Regions from separate parts of the Homo sapiens genome. Here region 2 is linked to region 1. Evidence: promoter capture Hi-C in 16 types of primary human blood cells and fetal thymus (Javierre and others, 2016). All regions are on one chromosome and are shown on one strand. The core of a region is centred on a gene start or on the middle of the fragment in contact, and the rest is flanking DNA. Distances in the headings are between cores, read along the strand shown. Region 1 holds the start of COG3 (component of oligomeric golgi complex 3). Region 2 holds the start of LINC00563 (long intergenic non-protein coding RNA 563).

Region 1 (2,832 bases), core at 96-2,595:
GCAGATCACTTGAGGTCAGGAGTTCGAGAACAGCCTGGACAACAGGGCGAAACCCCATCTCTACTAAAAATACAAAAAATTAGCCGGGTGTAGTGGCAGGCACCTGTGATCCCAGCTACTCGGGAGGCTGAGACAGGAGAATCGCTTGAACCCGGGAGGTGGAGGTTGCAGTGAGCCGAGGTCACGCCACTGCACTCCAGCCTGGGCGACAGAGCGAGAGAAAAGAATGCTTCCAACATCAAAAGTAACCATCACCACTGCTTATATAAAATAATCCTCCTAAACCTGGCCCTCAAAACTGGAAAACGTTTGTCAAACATCTGACAATTCATGTTACTTCCTGCTATTACAACTAATTGAATTGAATCACACAAGAAGCAGTAGTGCATAATATCCTAATGGTAAGTGGATTAAACACATTGACTCTAACACCGAAAACCAGCACTGCTTAATAATGTACTGAGCCAACTTTCAAATAAAATTCATTTTTATTGCTTTGCAATAGGTGAAATAAATCTGATCTCCCATAACTTGCACTTGATTGAGAGCTCATAGTTCAATGTGCGATAAATGAAACTCACTCAGGACCAAGTTTTGGTCTCCCCAAGACCCCCATGGACAAAGCAACCTAGGTGAATCATTAAGGCGGTAAACGAGCACGCGCTGGAGACTGTCCTGCAGCACAGCACCTCGGGTTGACTGCCTCTCCTTCTGGGAGAGAGTGGGCAGCAGGATTACGCCTCGGCTGACAGGACGCCTCGTCTGGGGCAAAACGTTCGGTGCAAGGCTCCGGGCCAACCGTCCCATGCTGCTGGGGGAGGACTGGGTTCCGGCGAGCACCAGCTGCAGGACACCCCCACAGCCGTCCCCAGGCAGAATTAGAGTCGGGGTCGCAGGCAGAGCGAAGCCTGACAGCCTGGGAGATGAGGCCCCTCCCACCGGATCCGCCACCATGGCCAGGGAGGAGTGGAGAGATATCCTGGGCAGAGGCTAGTGAGGCCGGGGTCCTGCCGGGGCGCCCGAGGAGAATCCCAGCCCCATCGCCCCGGCCCGGTTCCTGCCCATCACCTCACCTCAGCTGGCACCGGCAAGTTCTCTGCCGCCGCCTTCAGCTCCAATACCGAGTCCGTCTGCCTGTCGGTCAGCGGCGCCGTCGTGTCCGGTCTCCGATCCCAGAGAGCCAGCTTTTCCCTAGCGTCCCGCTCCGCCGCCGCCTCAGGCAGCAGCAACAGCGCCGCCTCCGCCATCGCCGCCGCCCTCGCGGCCTTCAGCAGCAGCGAGATGGAGGGGACCCCGACAGAGAGACCTGGGCCACTTCCGGGAGAACCGGAGCTTCCAACACTGCACCGGCGGCGGGGCGGGACGGAATGCCCTGACCCCGGAAACGGTTCCGCAGTGTGGGGGGCGGGACCGAGGCCAGTACCGACGTGGCTTTAAATGGGTACGACTATTTCCGGTTGAAACGTAGAAGGTGGAGAAGACAGGACCCAATGGAAATAGAAATGCCCCTACCGGAAGTCTTTTCCTCAACATCAATAACTTTATTGTTACGTGTTGTACAGATTATTGACAACTGCGCTAAATCACCCTGCCGGCAGGAGACTTGGATCTACACCTCTCTGCTTACAGCTGGGTAGTCTGGGTAGAATGTGTGGAGTGTATGATTTCCATGTTGGCATGTTGACAATTTATGCCTCTTGGATCAAAACCAAAAGCATAAACTTTTCCAACATCCAGTAATTCCCCTACTAGAAAACTAATTTACGGAAACACATAAAAAATTCAAAGATGTGTGTATCTCAGACATCATTAATGGTATCAAATAACTGGAGACAACCTAAATGTCCAACATTGAAGAACTGGATCAAGAATTTGTGGCACAGACCAGGCGCGGGGGCTCAGGCCTGTAATCTCAGCACTTTGGGAGACCGAGGTGGGCGTATCACCTGAGGTCAGGAGTTTGAGACCAGACTGGCCAACATGGTTGAACCCCGTCTCTACTAAAAGCACAAAAATTAGCCAGGCGTGGTGGCACATGCCAGTAATCAGCCTGAGAGGCTGAGGCAGGAGAATCTCCTGAACCTGGAAGGTGGACGTTGCAGTGAGCAGAGATCTTGCCACTGCATTCCGGCCTGGGCATCAAGTGAGACTGTCTCAAAATGTATAATAATAATAATTTGTGGTACAGACATGTAATTCTACTCTACCATTTAAATCATATTGTAGATTTGAGCAACAAAATAAATAATGATAGTATTGGATCATAATTTACAGAATAAAATAAATACCCATGAGTCCATACTGCTATAAATAAACGATTGAATAAATAAATGGTGGAGAACAGACAATCTTCTACAAGTTATGGAGGCCTCTTCCTGCTCCTCCCTGGAGTCAAGGCAGGTGGAAACAGCTTCGTAGCAATTTTGACCATTGTCTGGGTAAAGTCTGAAGGCTTTATTCAGGCTTTATAGCACAAATCAGTGCCTGGCTATGTTCCCAAATGAAGGCTCTGATCTTTTAAGAGCAGAATTTGAGACCGGGCGCAGTGGCTCACACCTGTAATCCCAGCACTCTGGGAAGCCGAGGTGGGCGGATTACCTGAGGTCGGGAGTTCGAGACCAGCCTGATCAACATGGAGAAATCCCGTCTCTACTAAAAATACAAAAAAACTTAGCTGCGCGTGGAGGTGCATGCCTGTAATCCCAGCTACTCGGGAGGCTGAGGCAGGAGAATCGCTTGAACCCAGGAGGCGGAGGTTGCTGTGAGCCAACGTTGCACCATTGCACTCCAGCCTGGGCAACAAGAGCTAAACTCTGTCTCAAAAAAAAAAAG
Region 2 (2,937 bases), core at 339-2,838, 830 kb before region 1:
GATGGTCTCGATCTCCTGACCTCGTGATCTGCCCACCTCAGCCTCCCAAAGTGCTGGGATTACAGGCATGAGCCACCATGCCCAGCCCTGACTTTTGTAGAATTATATAGCAAGCTAGCTAGAGTGGGGGAAGAGTTGATGTATATGGCCATACCACTTAGTAAATTATCACAATTGTCCAGATGAGAGATAATGATGGCCTGGAATGGAATAGTGGCAGTGGAACCAGAGACATTGGAGAGACATGTAAGAGGTGGAGGTAGAACTGACAGGACTTTGTAAGTTATTGGAAGTGGAGTGTGGCTATGAAAACATAAAACACTTGAACCATTCAACTTAATCCATATCCTGTATGTGTGTGTGTGTGTGTGTTGGAGGAGGTGGGTATGCTCTCAGCAATAAGAAATCTATTTGCCTGGGGGTAAACAATGCTACTGTCATTGACTTCATAATAGCTGTAGTTTCTGCTTTGCTTTTTGAGATAAAGCAGTCCTGACTGGGCCATGAGGCTATTGAGGTAAAAACTTTGTTGTACTTACTAATAGAAAGAAGAATGCACTACTAATTAGAGAAATGCGAATCAAAACAACAATGAGATGTCATCTCACACTGGTCAGATTGGCTATTATCAATAAGTCAAAAAATAACAGATGCTGGTGAGGTTGCAGAGAAAAGGGAATTCTTATATACTCTTGGTGGGAGTGTTAATTAGTTCAACCATTGTGGAAACCAGTGTGGTGATTGCTCAAAGAGCTAAAAACAGAGCTACAATTTGACCCAGCAATTCCATTACTGGGTATATACCCAAAGGAATACAAATTGTTCTACCAGCATTTGTTCGGTTAGGTTGCAGTAACAAACAATTCCAAAATCTCAGGGACAATGACAAAGGATTATTTTTTGCTTACAATATATGTCAGCTAGGGTTGACTATAGCTCTGCTCTACATGTCTTCTTCATTCTGGTTTACAGGCTGAAAGATTCACCCCTACCTAGGACACCCCCTTCCTTCCCCTCCCTGCCCCCACATTTTTTAAGAGAAGAAAAAAAGCCATGGCTGAACTATGCAATGATTTTTGTTGTTGTTGTTGTTGTTGAGATGGAGTCTTGCTCTGTCGCCCAGGCTGGAGTGCAGTAGCGCACTCTTGGATCACTGCAACCCCCACCCCCTGGGTTCAAGCAATTCTTCTGCCTCAGTCTCCCTAGTAGCTGGGACTACAGGCGTGCGCTACCACACCCAGTTAATTTTTGTATTTTTAGTAGAGAGAGGGTTTCACCGTGTTGGCCAGGCTGGTCTTGAACTCCTGACCTCAAGTGATCTGCCCGCCTTGGCCTCCCAAAGTGCTGGGATTACAGGCGTGAATGACTTCCAAAACTTCTGCTGAGACATGGTATAAGCCATCTGCTCACATTCCATTAACCAAGGCAAGTCCCTGGACCCAAGTCTGATGTCAATAGTGGGAAGAAATGTATTCCACAGGAAGGCCCATGGCAGTAGACCTGGATGTATAATTTTCTTGCAGGGAGAGTGTAAATAATCTGGAAGAAATACTGCAGTCTATCACAGATCCCAAAGATAGTTTCATCATTTGTATTTTTACAAATACTTACTGGATACTATTCCTTTCTGTGAGGCAAGAACAACCAGCTGTCATTCTCTAAAAATTTTCAGATATTAAGCACATATTCACCTCTGAACTTTAATGTTTTTTCTACATCAGCATTATTCAGAATCTCATCCAGGAACTATTTGCTAACAATCTGCAATGAGATAAGAAGATTATGCCAGGAAGTAAATCAACACACTGCTTCCTTCACCACGAAAGCCTTGCTACAAAAAATCAAATGGCAGCAGTACTGAACAGTGCACTTACTGATGTAGTTGGTTAACATTTTGGCTTAAGCTCCTTATCTTGTCATGGACAGGTACCGAATACTCTGGACTGACAGAGGTCGACAAACTATGCTCTGAGTGGCACTGTTCTGCAGCAAAGTGGTTTTACCCATAAGACCATTCAATTATAGAATTTTAGAACTGAAAGATGTCTTAGACACCATCTAGTCCAAGTTCCTGGTTTCACAGCCGAGGATCCTTAGAACCTGAAAGTTTTAGCAAACTTCCCAAAGCCACTTAGTGGTTGTGATGCAATATGAAGTAAAGGCCAACTGTCCTGACTCTTTCCAATCACCACCATGCCCTGAAATTCCTGAAGGAAGCAGAATTTCCTCTGAGGTTTCTGCTGAGTCATATGCAGGCTCCATCTGATGTAGAGATTCAGTAGAAGGGGCCAGGTTGCCTCCTGATGGGGGCAGCGTGTGGAGGATGAGCCTGGGCTTACTTGGCAGACAGATCTGGTCATGTTCCAGCTCTATCTCCTACTTGCAGAATGTCTTCGGGAAAATTACCTACATTCTCAAAGCCTCAGATTCTTGCTTTGTCAACATTCCTTGAAGATTGCTAAACTGAAGACTCTGGTGTTCCCTTTTGTGATAGGGAGAATAATAGCCCCCCAAAGATATCTACATCCTAATCCTTGGAACCTGTGACTATGTTATGTCACATGGCAATGGGAGACTTGAGGTTCCAGACTGAATTAAGGTTGATAATCAGCTGACCTTGAGATGGTGAGACTATCTGGGATCATCTGGGTGGGTCCAATGTCATCACAATGTTCCTTATAAGAGAGAGGCAGGAGAGAAAGAATCAGAAAGGCGGCAGCATGAGGAAGGCTCAGCCTGACATTGCTGGCTTAGAAGATGGAGGAGTGAGGCCATGAGCGAAGGAATGCAGGAAGCCTCTAGAAGCTGGAACACACCCCTGCTGACACCTGGACTTGTACCTAGTGAAACCCATTTCAGACTTCAGACCTCCAAAACTGTGCAGTAATAAAGCTGTTTTGTTTTAAGCCACTGATTTGTGGTAATTTGTTAGAGCAG

What was found. Contacts are between HindIII fragments. The CHiCAGO score rates a contact against its expected background, and 5 or more counts as called.
Region 2: a fragment that was not itself captured here is called in contact with the fragment with the promoter of COG3 in region 1 in 1 of 17 cell types (total CD8 T cells); the score reaches 6.0 in total CD8 T cells.

What each region holds. Positions count from the first base shown.
Region 1 is chr13:45,463,452-45,466,283 of GRCh38, reverse strand. COG3 (component of oligomeric golgi complex 3) reads right to left here and starts at 1,345. Exons shown (of 23, transcript NM_031431.4): 1 at 1,074-1,345. The coding sequence starts at 1,247. The HindIII fragment of the contact is 5,472 bases long and covers 1-2,832 here.
Region 2 is chr13:46,296,419-46,299,355 of GRCh38, reverse strand. LINC00563 (long intergenic non-protein coding RNA 563) reads left to right here and starts at 1,512. Exons shown (of 1, transcript NR_047493.1): 1 at 1,512-2,911. All of the region lies in intron 2 of LOC105370194 (a long non-coding RNA gene), which reads left to right. RefSeq lists an enhancer at 1,725-2,924. The HindIII fragment of the contact is 4,337 bases long and covers 1-2,937 here.